Regions from separate parts of the Homo sapiens genome. Here region 2 is linked to region 1. The links are contacts of gene promoters, found by promoter capture Hi-C in blood cells and fetal thymus (Javierre and others, 2016). All regions are on one chromosome and are shown on one strand. Each heading gives the region's core, a stretch centred on a gene start or on the middle of the fragment in contact. The rest is flanking DNA. Distances are from core to core; before and after follow the strand shown. Region 1 holds the start of PFN2 (profilin 2). Region 2 has its middle 26 kb from the start of SERP1.

What was found. The method cuts DNA at HindIII sites, captures the fragments that hold promoters and counts their contacts. A CHiCAGO score of 5 or more calls a contact.
Region 2: a contact is called between a fragment that was not itself captured here and the fragment with the promoter of PFN2 in region 1, in 3 of 17 cell types (M1 macrophages, megakaryocytes and endothelial precursors). The highest score is 7.6, in M1 macrophages.

The regions. Positions count from the first base shown.
Region 1 is chr3:149,967,299-149,973,870 of GRCh38, forward strand. PFN2 (profilin 2) reads right to left here and starts at 3,597. Exons shown (of 3, transcript NM_053024.4): 1 at 3,427-3,597; 2 at 1,060-1,252. The coding sequence starts at 3,558. LOC646903 (a long non-coding RNA gene) reads left to right here and starts at 3,981. Exons shown (of 1, transcript NR_036538.1): 1 at 3,981-5,944. RefSeq lists silencers at 2,793-3,052, 3,073-3,122, 3,133-3,372, 3,583-3,662, 3,893-3,952 and enhancers at 3,798-4,329, 4,330-4,860. The HindIII fragment of the contact is 10,546 bases long and covers 1-6,572 here.
Region 2 is chr3:150,516,949-150,523,520 of GRCh38, forward strand. No RefSeq gene overlaps it. Among named protein-coding and RNA genes, the nearest start is that of SERP1, 26 kb to the right of the region's middle. RefSeq lists enhancers at 3,149-3,649, 3,650-4,150. The HindIII fragment of the contact is 502 bases long and covers 3,964-4,465 here.

The DNA of each region.
Region 1 (6,572 bases), core at 2,347-4,846:
ATCGTATAAAATATTCTGGTTTTTTGTCTTGTGTTTGACGCTTCTTTTCAGCGTATAGTGCAGCTAAGGTTTAAAGAGATTTGTCACTATTTCAAAGTCATCTAATTTTCTTATAAATCCTTATAAACATCAACTCACACCAGAATACGAGTAACTTTTAGGATAATCACAGGGAGCTGGTAGAGCCATAGCATTAATTATAACTCACAGCAGCTTCAACTCCCCTCACATGGTAGAGCTGTTATTAAAATTAGATGTGCCAAGTCAGCTATGTGAGGCTACAGAAGCACTCTCTATTTACAAAATATTCGTATGCGTTAACACATTAAAATGTATTTGTAAATCAATTAGATGTCATAATAAAACTCAATTTCAAAAGTTTATTTTGAAAAAGTAGGGAGACTTCTTTAGTGCAATTAAGAGTTTCTATAATGCTGACAACAGTCTGGAGACACCTGAATTTCTGGACCAAGTATACAAACTAAATGTAATTTCCTACTTTTCAAATCTAAGTCTCAGACACAATCTTTGAAAATATTTCAGTGAATGGACAACTTACTCCAAAATCCTCATCTAATTATCTTTTCCCCAGCAAAGTTCCTAACTGAAAAATGAACGGATGTTAATTTTTCCTTCTTTATGCTGAGTAGTGAAATGGTTAGAATACAAGCAAGAAAAAAAAGAAAAGAGATCCAAAGGTCAAACACACACCAAAAGGGACTAAAATAACCAAGTGATTCGAACAATTTAACAATCTGAAACACCACAGGATTATGATTTGACATGTCAAGCAGTTTAAGAGACTTTTAAGTTTAATAAAGCTGAAAGTGAGTTCATACGAATATTCTATCGTAGAAACAAAATCAGGATCTAAGAGGCCAGGTCATAGATGCTGTAGAGTAGGTAAAACTAAAGCAGTGCTTCTCCATAGTGCTGGGCAGTTCACAAAAACCACCTTAATAGCCATTATGGACTAACTTTTATTCAAAATGTTAAAAGAAACTGCTTAATAAGTTGTAATGTGGCATGCAACTTTAACCAAAAGAATGCCTTACTCACCTCTACCAGCTCTGCCGACAGCCACATTGTATGTTGGCTCCCCACCTTGACTCTTTGTCCGGATGTCCATTGTGCAGTCACCATCGACGTATAGACTATCTCTGATCACTGAGCATTTCTTCGCGCCAAGAGTCAAACCGTTGGTAAAGAAACCTTCCCGGTCTTTTCCTACAATCATATCTATTTCTATTGGCTGCCCCCCACCAAAAAGAAAAAAAAAAAACACACACACATTAAGTTGTAGTTAACTCCTTTTAGGGCTTGATGTAACAGGAAGGGCTGTAGCTAGGCTTATGCTACCACTGCCAGATAGCCACATTTCACTAATGTAAAACCAAGATTCAGTCTTTTCTAAATAATTATTTAATCCTATATAATCACATATTTTACATGAGTTGATTTGACTTCAGTTAATGATGTCGTCTCTTAACCAAGACCAGTCTATACAAAGAAACTGTAAAGAGTTGACAGTTGACACTAGACAAAGTGCAAACTTAAAGAGTTATTTATAAACTGTATTAAGTCAGCTGGTGCCTGAAAGTGTTCACGTAATGGTAAAAATTCAGCTATCAACTCTGAACAAAGCTGGTCTATCATATTCAGTCCCATTACAGTAAATCATGTTTCATCAAATTTAAAGTTGCTTCAAAGTCTCCCAAAATAAAGCCTGTTCTTTGATGTGTTCACTTCTCTGCTTAGAGTAACTAGAAATATACGTGATGAGATGGACTTCAACCCCTGGACATCAGTGCTTTTCCAAATTCATATTTCCCTCCTATTTTTCTAGCCACGACTCCCGTTTCTTTCCAACTTCCCTTCCCCTCCCATCTCAGTAATCAGTTTTCTTTCTGGGCAAACGCAAAGTGGATTCTGTCTACAGCACTGCGGTAGGCAATAGTAAAACAGAAAAAATGGAGGGAGATTGGGAAAGAAACTGAGGTAGCCACCAGAACCGGAAAGGAGAAAACGTGCATTCTAACATTCCATGAATAAGAAGGAAGGCGTCGCCCCCATCAGAACTGCAGAGTCATAGCAGGCCCCAGCCATTTCCAAGCACACTCCCGCAATCTTCCTAGTCAGACAGCGGGAACTCACACACAAAGACAAGAGGACTGCAGGAAAAAAGTTGATGACCAGATGCCAATTCCCTACAAGAATTGTAGTCCACTGCGGGTATACGAGACCTTAAAGTACTACTATCAAGGACTGAGTTCTAAAGTTAGACTTTAAACCATGTTAAGTGGTAAAAGAATAATTAGCACCCTTAATAGGGGACCTGAATTTTGGTGCTTAATGGAAAGGGAGCGTGGTGCTAAGAAATAAAGAGAATGGTCTCGTATTTAGTACAATTATCATAATTTTAGAAACAGCCTTGGGCAGAAACAGGCAAAACAATAAGCTGGAGGTTTTGTGGCAAATATTCTCCAAACATATTGCAACCAACTCAAAACCATCAAGTCTCAAGAAAATCAGGCAATGTGAAGCATAAAACTGCATTAGTTCCTTTACTGCCACCACTAAAGAGGGAGGGACTTAGAGAAGTGAAGTGTGCTCCTGGTCTTCGCAGATAATTGAAAGCCCCCGAAAAGCACCCCTTTTTTGAGCTATGTTGCATAACTGGGGATAACCGTATATCGATGAATCTCCATATGAGAAGAGAAATCAATGGCAGTTCGCCATCTTGGAGAATTTAAAAAAAAAAAAAAAACAACCTATAGAGCTAGAGCTGAAGTCGAGATTCACGAATCCACCTACGCGGTCGGCGTACATCTCTCGCAAGCCCCAGAGGCCTGGACATCGGTAAACCTACGCAAAGTCGCTTCGAGAATCCCGGGGGCCGGGCCGGGGCCGCCGCCTCCCACAGCCGGAGGCGCGGGAGGCGCGCTGTCCGCGGAGCAAGAGCCGGCCAGAGAGCCTAGGGACCTCCACCCGGGGCCCGCGCGCCCCAGCCCGGATCCCCGACCCCCGCTTCCACCCCAGAACGTGCATAGCAAACCTCAGGGCTTCAAGAGAACCTAGGGGAACCGCACTAGGAGGAAAAAAGGAACCCCTCCCCTTGCCCTGGCCGGTGCGTGCCCCCTCCCCCAACCCGGGCACCTGGACCGACGCTGGGAACGCCGGGGGCGCCCGGCCAGGGCCAGCAAGGAGTCCGGCCGCCGCCCCCAGCCTGTCAGCGCAGCCCCGGGTGAGGGGGCGTCCCCGGGCCTCGGCCTCCCCGCCCGCCCGGCAGCCGCATCCTCGGCGCCCGCTGCCTAGCACACCTGCGGGCTCGGCCCTCAGTGTTCCAGCCCCGCGCTGCGGTGCCCCCGCGGCCGGCCACCCCGCTCCGGTGCAGGGACCAGGGTACCGGCCGCCACTGGTCCTCACCGTAATGCTCTGAAAGACGCCCCCGGCCGTGGCTGCCCAGACGTATTTGGCGTCGCAGTAGCCGACAATGGCGGCCTCCTGGCAGCAGCCATCGCACATCAGGTTATCCACGTAGCTCTGCCAACCGGCCATCTTCGAGCCCTTCGCACTGCAGCGCGGACGGCGAGGAGCAGCAGGCGCAGCGGCGGCGGCGGCGGTAGCGGGCGGCGGCGGCGCGGGGGGAGGCGGGGCGGGGGCGGGGAGGAGGCGGCTCTGCGCAGGCACCGACCGCCCCCCTCCCCGAGGAGCTGCGGCGGGAGGACGCGGGTTCAGCGATGAGGGACGAACCTCAGAGCGCGCTCGGCCGCCCGGCCGCCCGCAGCCGCGGGGCTGACAAACCAGCGGCGGGAGGCTGCGAAGCGGCTGTGCCTGTGGCGGCTGCTCCTTACCGCAGCGCCCTCCGTTTTCCGCGGACACGGCTGGGCGTGCGCGCGCGCGTGCGTGCGATCCTTCCGCGGCGCCCGGGCACGGAGGGTCCCGGGAAGGGCGGGGGGAGACTGAGGCGGGGGCGCGGAGGGATACCGCCCCGGGACAATCACGGCCGCCACGTGCGGGAGGCGCCGGCCGGGAGCGGTGGCGGGCCGAGCTTCGGACCTCGGGCCGGCGGAGAGGGTGGACCCCGCGTCGCTCTCGGCACCCCAGGAACAGCGGCGGCACGGACGCCTTGGAGCCCCGCGGCCGGGCCGCGATGTGCTTTTCTCCTGTGTTCGCTGCCCGGGATGCGGAATCTTGAGCCTCGGTGTCGGGTTACAGAGTTGTCCTGGTGACGGGATGCGGAGCGTTTCCTCCTTTTTGTTGTGGGGGCGGCTGGTGGCAGGGGCAGCTGGTGGCAGGGTTGCCCACGCTAATCTCCGAGTCTCTAAGGGCACCGTCTTTCCTGGATCCCTCTTGCGCCTCGTCCATAAAGGCAGACCCGCGGGCGCGCGCCGGCAACCTGAAATCAGAGCAGGCGTCCGTGGCGCTCAGGAACCTTGCTGAGCTTCGCCGATCTTTCATTGTTGCTTCATTTGGGTACCAAGGGCCTCTCATTCTGTGGATTCTTTGCCTGGAGGAGCCCCCTTAATGTTGCTAATCACGTGTGGTTAAATTGCTCGTAAATTCCGAACAAAACAAATAGCGACCTGTGTTACACTGTTTCTTGGTAACTGGGAAAGTTACTGGTGGCTTGAAGTATACGCAGAAAATACAAAGATTAAAAACTAGGGAAGAGTTCACTGAATGAACACCGTAACATTTCTGCTCTGCAGGGTAAAATAATTTCGGGACCCAGGTCTGGGAAAGATTTGTATTAACAAGGTAAACGGTGGGTAGAGTGCCTGAGAAGCTATTCGTATCGTCTTTGGTAGCCTCTGGGCACTAGGACTAGACATGGAATTAGGGGTCCCCCAACAATGACTTCAATTTTAGGTTAATAGAAACCATCTGCCACTTAAGGGAAAGAAAGCACCAAAATGTAGATAAGTTGATGTTCACCCTTAAAGTTATCGTGTGAGGTCATGATTTGTAGGAGGATTAAGGAATGTATCTCTGGAAAGGGCAAGAACGTTGCTTTTAAAAGTCTAATTGGTTCTGAAGTTTTATATTTTTTCTGCTGATTGCTTTAAAATGTTCAGCTACTAGAGAGAAAAAAAGTACAGTAAAAGAAACCCCCAAGTCAGAGACCTATCAGACTGAGAATATGTATTTTCTCATGTTCTAAAGATACAGAATACCTGTGTGGTGTAAAATGTGAACCAAAAATTGTTTCATTTTTGTAAGTGTGCCTCCCACCTGATTTAATTACACTTAATTGTTCTTGTTTATGACTCTGCCTTTTATGGTGATGTTGATCATTTTAGTCCTTCGATCATAGCACTGTATCATCTTAAAAGTTAATAATAGATTACTTGTAACACAGGCTCACTATGTGAGAATTCATCAAGCTGTATGTACATTTATTGTGCTCTTCATTGTATGTATAATTCAATAAATTGAAACAGTAAACGAAAAGGTAATTATAGAAAAAATACAGTGATAACTTGAAGTATGTTGAATTTTTATTAATTTACTCTGAAGGTTTTAAGATATAATTTCTAGACGTTACTATCTTATTGTTATAGCACAGAGTTGGAAATAACTACATTCTTTTCCTATTCTTTTATTGTTGGCTTTAAACAGTGAAAGAATTTGACCAACAATATTTTCTAATTCAAATCTCAAAAGATTCTAAAACACATTTCTTGGGTAAAATATTCACAAAAATTTAGAATTCTTGTCATTCTTCTATATTTTTCAAAATATAATTCATTTTAAATTACTGCTTACTTTTCCAACATGATGTTATTTTTCTAGAATTGCAAACAGTAAAATTTAAACAACTATGAAAAAAATTCTGTATAATAGATTAAATTTTACAGTTTCAATTTTTAGGTTATATATTCAAAGAGAGTCCATGTGCTGTCTTGGTTTTCAGTACTGTAATAAAGTAACCTGTGCTTTTTTGTTTGTTTGTTTATTGAGATGAGACTCCGTCACCAGGGCTGGAGTGCAGTGGCATGATCTCGGCTCACTGCAACCTCCGCTTCCTGGGTTCAAGCGATTCTCCTGCCTCAGCCTCCCAAAAGTAGCTGGGATTACAGACACCCGCCACTACGCCCAGCTAATTTTTTGTATTTTTTGTAGAGACGGGGTTTCACCATGTTGGCCAGGCTGGTCTCAAACTCCTGACCTCGTTATTCGCCTGCCTCGGCCTCCCAAAGTGCTGGGATTACAGGCATGAGCCACCATGCCCGGCCACCTGTGCTTGTTTTCTTTAGAACCAGCTTCCTTGCATGCTGCTTTATTTTCCATTTGTGTACAGTGATCCCTTCCTATTTCATCTAAGTGTTGCTTATACGTTTCAGAAAGTATAAATAGAGGTGGAATACTGAGCTTTAGTAATAACAATATTGGTTCACTTAAGTCCAAAGGAGTATCAGTGTGAGAAAAAGAATTGCCAATTTGTATCTTCCTCTACTTTTCTGAGAGTAAGTAATCCCTAGGATAATTGTAATATCTGGGCAGAAGTTTAGAAAAGTTGTGGCTGTGTTGTTGATACAAATAGCCAGAATAATGTAGCCATTAACAAT
Region 2 (6,572 bases), core at 2,965-5,464, 550 kb after region 1:
AAAAAACATAGGCATAAATCTTATGACTTTGGGTTTGTTACATACGATGCCAAAAGTACAAACAACAAAAGAAAAATTAGAGAAGGTAAACATTATCAAAATTTTTAAATTTGGGGCATCAAAGGACACTATCAAAAAAGTGAAAAGATTAGTTAGCCAGGTATGGTGGTACACACCTGTAGTTCCAGCTACTTGGGAGGCTAAGGCAGGAGGATCACTTGAGCCCAGGAGTTTGGGGTTGCAATGAGCTATGATTGCGCCACTGCACTACAGCCTGGGCAACAGAGCAAGACCCTGTCTCTAAATGAATTAATTAATTTAATCAAAGTTAAAAAATAAAGTGAAGAGAAAATTCACAGAATGAGATAAAAATTTGACAAATTGTATATTTGATAAGGGACTTATATCTAGAATATATAAGAAACTATTACAATTCAATAATAAAAAGGCAAACTACCCATTTTTTTAAAAACAGGCAAATGATCTAAAGAGACATTCTCCAAAGAAGATATGCAAATAACCAATGAGCAAACAAAAAGATGCTCAACAGCATTAGCCATCAGGAAAATGTACACCAAAACCACAGTAAGATACCACTCACACCTTCTAGGATGGCTAAAATAAAAAAGACAGATAACAAGCTTTGGTGAAGATGTGGGTAAATTGGAATCCTCATACACTCCTGGTGGGTGTTGGGAACAAGCCCCTCAAAATCTGGCTGTAAACTGGCCCCAAAACTGGCCATAAACAAAATCTCTGCAGCACTATGACATGTTCATGATGGCCATAACGCCCATGCTGGAAGGTTGTGGGTTTACCGGAATGAGGGCAAGGAACACCTGGCCTGCCCAGGGCAGAAAACCACTTAAAGGCATTCTTAAGCCACAAACAATAGCATGAGCAATCTGTGCCTTAAGGACATGCTCCTGCTGCAGTTAACTAGCCCAACCTATTCCTTTAATTCAGCCCATCCCTTCGTTTCCCATAAGGGATACTTTTAGTTAATTTAATATCTATAGAAACAATGCTAATGACTGGCTTTGGCAGGTGGGAATGTAAAACGGTGCAGATGCTTTGGAAAATGGTTTGACAACTCCTGAACCAGTTAAATATAGTTACCACATGATCTAGCAGTTTCACTCTTACATATATACCCAAGAGAAATGAAAACATATTTCCACTGTCCACACAAAAACTTGTATACAAATGTCCATTGCGGCATTATTCACAATTGCCAAAAGGTGGAAACAACCCAAATGCCCATCAGCTGATGAATGGATAAATAAAATGTGGTATACTCAATATTTTTCAGCAATAAAAGGAAATGAGGTACTAATGTAGTCTACAACATGAATGAACCTTGAAAACATGCCAAGAAGCCAGTCACAAGGACAAAATATTGTGATTCCATTTATATGAAATTTTCAGAATAGACAGATCTATAGAGAGAAAGTGGATTAATGGTTTCCTGGGGCTGGGGAAATGGGGTGATCAGGTTGGAGGTGAAAAAGAACAAACTCTTGCTACAGGCAACAGTGTAGATGAATTTAACAGACATAGTGTTGAGTGAAAGAAGCCAGACACAAAATAGTACATACTGTATGATTCCATTTATACAAAGTTCAGGAACAGGTAAAACCATTCAACGGCAAGAGAGTCAGCAGCTGTTACCTTTTGGGGTATTGGCTGGGAGTAGGAATAAGGCAGCCTTTTGTGGTTTTGGGAATGCTCTATTATCTTAATCTGGAAGGTGGGTACAAGAGTGAGTGTGAGTATGTATGTTTGTGAATACATCTATGTTAAAGAATTCATTTAGTTGTACACTGAATATTTGTTCACTTTACTATGTAAGTTCAAGCACAATAACAAAAATTGTATAGATAAAATAAAAAGTACTATCCCACCAATCTAGTTAGCTTGGGAGCTTCCCTATAACTGAAGCAAACTGGATCAAAATGCTTCTCTCCTCTTCTCCAGGGCCACATAGTCTGCATATTTTTAACTTTTCCTCTTCATGGCTGCCTTCGATTGTCACTAACTGATTTCAGAGAAACCTTGAGGCAGAGAAACCTTGTGGCTTCAGGGAATGCCAGAACTTGGACCTTTAGGTCTCAGAACCCCTCTAAAAAGGTTTTCCTTTATGGCTGAGGCCTCTTTCTCTTTCCAATTGAAGGCTTATCAGGAAGGAGGGTTCCCAGGAAGCAAGCTGGGCAGGCCTACGTACTTGAAGTCTCAGAGAGTCATATAATTAAAACTCCTTTGTATTGCCTGGGTTTTCCTCTCATTATGCAGTAACCACACCCTTTTTATAACATTTATGATGTTACCTGCACATATACTCACTGGGAAACAATGTGAAGTTAAGCCTAGATCTGTGACTAACACCATAAAAGCAAAACAATCGCTCTACCTCATAGGAGTGCTGCTAAAAAGACACAAAGACATATTTTAAAATATTTACGTTAAGAGCAATACCATAACCAGGTAACATAGATGAAAACTTCATAAACTGAAAGAGGTCACACAAATGACCAAGACATAGTTTTAACTATATCATGGAAATCTCCAAAAATTATGTTCATCTATAAAGTAAGTGAAAGCACCGGAACAGCTTCCTCCAAATGAGCCTTGTAAATGGATCTACTAATAACACACTCCACTCTTAAATCTGAAAATAAACCAAGCCAATATTAAGTGAAAAGTAACCTCTGGTAAAACTGACACGCCACTTTAGGTAGCTGCAGCCATGCAAAAGTTTGATATCAAAGTATCTGAAAAGCATAGCATTCACCAGTTGTCGAAGCACCGTTCCGGGACTTGCAGCATCAGCTTCACTTGAGAACCTGTTAGAGATGCACATTCTCGGGCCCCAACTCAGGCCCACTGAATCAGAAACTCTGGGAATGGGGTCCCCAGCACTCCAGGTGTTTTTGTTGTTGTTGTTTTTGGGGTTTTTTTGAGACGGAGTCTCGCTCTGTTGCCCAGGCTGGAGTGCAGTGGCGCGATCTCGGCTCACTGCAAGCTCCGCCTCCCGGGTTGACGCCGTTCTCCTACCTCAGCCTCCCGAGTAGCCGGGACTACAGGCGCCCGCCCCCACGCCCGGCTAATTTTTTGTATTTTTAGTAGAGACAGGGTTTCACCGTGTTAGCCAAGGATGGTCTTTATCTCCTGACCTCGTGATCCGCCCGCCTCGGCATCCCAAAGTGCACTCCAGGTTTTAATTACCTCTCGGGTGATTGTGGTGCACGCTCAAGTTTGAGAACCTCAGCTGTACCCAATTACTTTAGGTGGGCAAGGGCTTTCTAGAAGATCAAACACTTCAAACACCTGGCTTCAGCTCACAAGCACGGGACAAAAGCTCTCGGTCCTCTTCCTTGTTCTCCGCGGGGTTTGTAGTATGAATCTCAGGTCACAAACTCGGACTATCACCTTAATTCAGACCCTCCCTCCCGGAGTGATCTAGGTCGTGTGTCGTCTCTCCTTCTCCGCTGTTGCAGCACAGATGGAAATGGAATGGGTCTCGCTTGCAGTCTGTCACGACCTCCACTGACTTCTTCAGGGTGGTCGCTCGCGGTGGTCCTAAGGCGCTCTCATCCTCCACACCTCGCTGGGGGACCGGCGATCTCCTCCAAAGGGTCGCCCCAAACCCCGGCCGCGCCACCCCCAGCTCCAGGGGACCAGCAGCTGGCAGCTCCGCTCTCCCACCCTCAACAATGCCGGGTTTCCTCGCTTCTCCGGCTTTTACAAGAGGTCGGGAGAACGTTTGAATTGTGGTTGCTTCTTCTTTGAATCTTGCAACATTCCTGAAAGCCCTACGGAACCGAAATTTGGAGAGAACACAAATAACAAGTCTAAAAATTATCTTGCCACAGGATAGTAGGTGCTTCCTACCATTACCTAAGTAATTTGACACCATATATTATTTAATACACTTCAGGGTTATACATAAAGGTAAAATGTGAAAGCTTGCAACTAATAATTACAGCAATAAGCAAACACATGTTTTTCCTCTTTAGTTTCGCTTTTTAAAATTATCAAATTATTTTTATGGACACAGTAATCAAAATAGAAACAATTTAGCCTAGGAAATTTAGCAAGACTCCATCTCTACAAAAAGTTAAACAATTACTTAGGTGTGGTGGCTGGTACCTGTAGTCCCAGCTACTCCGAAGGCTGAAGTGGGAAAATTGCTTGAGCTGGGGAGGTAGAGGCTACAGTGAGCTGATCACACCACTGCATTACAGCCTGGGCAACAGAGACCTTGTCTCAAAACAAGCAAACAAACAAATATATTTTACATTTTTAAAAAACACCCACATAACCCTATCACAAAAAAATCCACCAAGCTAATATTTTCATATTCTTTTCCCATTTTAGTATGTATATATCAGTACACATATTTTATGTCCTGCCCTTCTCACTTATTATTGATTTCCATGTTACCAAGTCACCTTGTTTCCATATAAGCTTTATGAAATTAATTTACAGGAACTACATGACACTGATTATAATATGCACATATCCTTCAACCTATTATCCACTCCTCAGATTCTACTTAAGTATTCTTTTTTAAGTATACTACAGTCTTTTCTCCCCTGTAAGTTTTTCATTTCTTCCCACATTTAGAGGAAACAATGCTTTCCACATCTTACTGCACCCCCTGGCTCTCTTCTGCTCAGTAACAGCAACTGTCTCAGTCAAGCGCCTCTCTGTGGAACACTGCTGTTCCTTCACAGACAAAGCCATAAAATCAGTGAAAAGCAGAGCCAGCTGCTCGCCCACTGCTAGAGGAAGAGGTCATCTCTCTTGCCTTTTATCCCATCTCAAAACATGTTATCCCTCTAATGCCTTTAGAGTTCCCTGGACTGGGCATACAGAGGTGTCCTCAAAGTGTTTTCAGAACTCTGATAATATAGGAGCAAAATCTGCTGAATCTTCCTTCCTAGAAACAAAAGTGATAAGGCCCAACCTTGAAATCTAGATGAAAATCCTGAATGTAACTTCATCTTTCAAGTTTCTGCAGTGGTTTCCAAAATGCATTTCACAGGGAGCTGTTTGGCATAGGTCAATGAAGAATGGATTTTCTGTTCCCAGAACCTTAAAATATTTATACTCTGTGCATATTCCAGAAATCAACAATAGCCCCCTACTGCCCATCACCAATTCTTCCATAAATAGATAAAGCACCTAATAGGTAACTCCCTGACAGTGGCTAGAATCAAGTGTTCATTTAATGGCCCCTTAGAGTTTCTCAGAAGTTTCTGGAGAAAATGGGAAGAATGATGTTAAAGTGCAGTCAGGTGTCACTTAACAGGAACATCTGAGAAATACGTCACAATTTCACCATTATGTAAACATCTTATGCTGTACTAAACCTAGATAACATAGCTTACTACACACTTAGGCTACATGGTATAGCCTATTGCTTCTAGGCTATAAACCCATACAGCATGTTGCTGTACTGAATGTGGCAGGCAATTGTAACACAATGGTAAGTATTTGTTTATCTAAATATATATAAACATAGAAAAGTTAAAGCATTGCATTATGACATTACGATGGCTTATGACAGCTATGATGTCACTAGGAAATAGGAATTTTTCAATTTCATTATAATTTTATAGGAGCACCGTCATATATGTGGTCAAATGTTGACCAAAACATTACTATACAGTACCTGACTATAGTTCCTTTGCTTTATCCCTGACTCCTACTCCAAAGTTTGGCTCTATCAACTGAGCAAAAGATAGAGGAAAAAATACTGTTTTCTTTCACTATGAAGGTAAAAAATATAACAAAGTCTTCTCGGAAAAATTCCTATAAAATCCAAGGTTAGAACATTTGGAAATAGCAAAAAAGATTATTGGGTATCTCAAATGGAAAACTAAGCACTATTTAGAACCCACCTTTCAGGTTATCTGATTGTACCTTTCCATTGCTTTTGAATTATTTTACAACTCTGTAAATTGTCAATAAGTGATAACAATGCAAAGTTAGTGTTGTTTACAAAGACATTTTGTTAGAGATCCAATTTTCTGCCCCCTGTTGAAAAAGTCAGTTTCTCCATCCATTTGTAAATTCATTTCAGTATTGCTTTGCTCCACATAAATTTGTGCTTCTTTGACTTCTCCTTTGAACTCATTGTTTAACATCTTACTATTTCTTCATTTATAATGACTTAAATAAAATCTTTAACACATGTTCATTTTATATCTGTATAGAGTCATAATTTTACCCCTCTGTGAAAATCATCCTTAGCCAGGCACAGTGACTCGTGCCTATAATTCCAGCACTTTGGGAGGCCAAGGCGGGAGGATCACTTGAGCCCAGGAGTTTGAGACCAGCCTGGACAACATAGTGAATTCTCTGTGTTAATTTCACTTTTTAAAAAAAAAATTTTTCCCCTCGTACAAACTCTCAGTCTCCCTGTGACTGAACATCACCAATGATGTTCTGAAAGACTCAGGTGAAAAGTGAAGGATTGAGGTAGAATTTGTTGTCTGAGAACAGATCTAACAGCCAGAACAAATAAGTCCTGCATAGGAAGCCAAGTTGGGAGCCAGCGAGGAAGG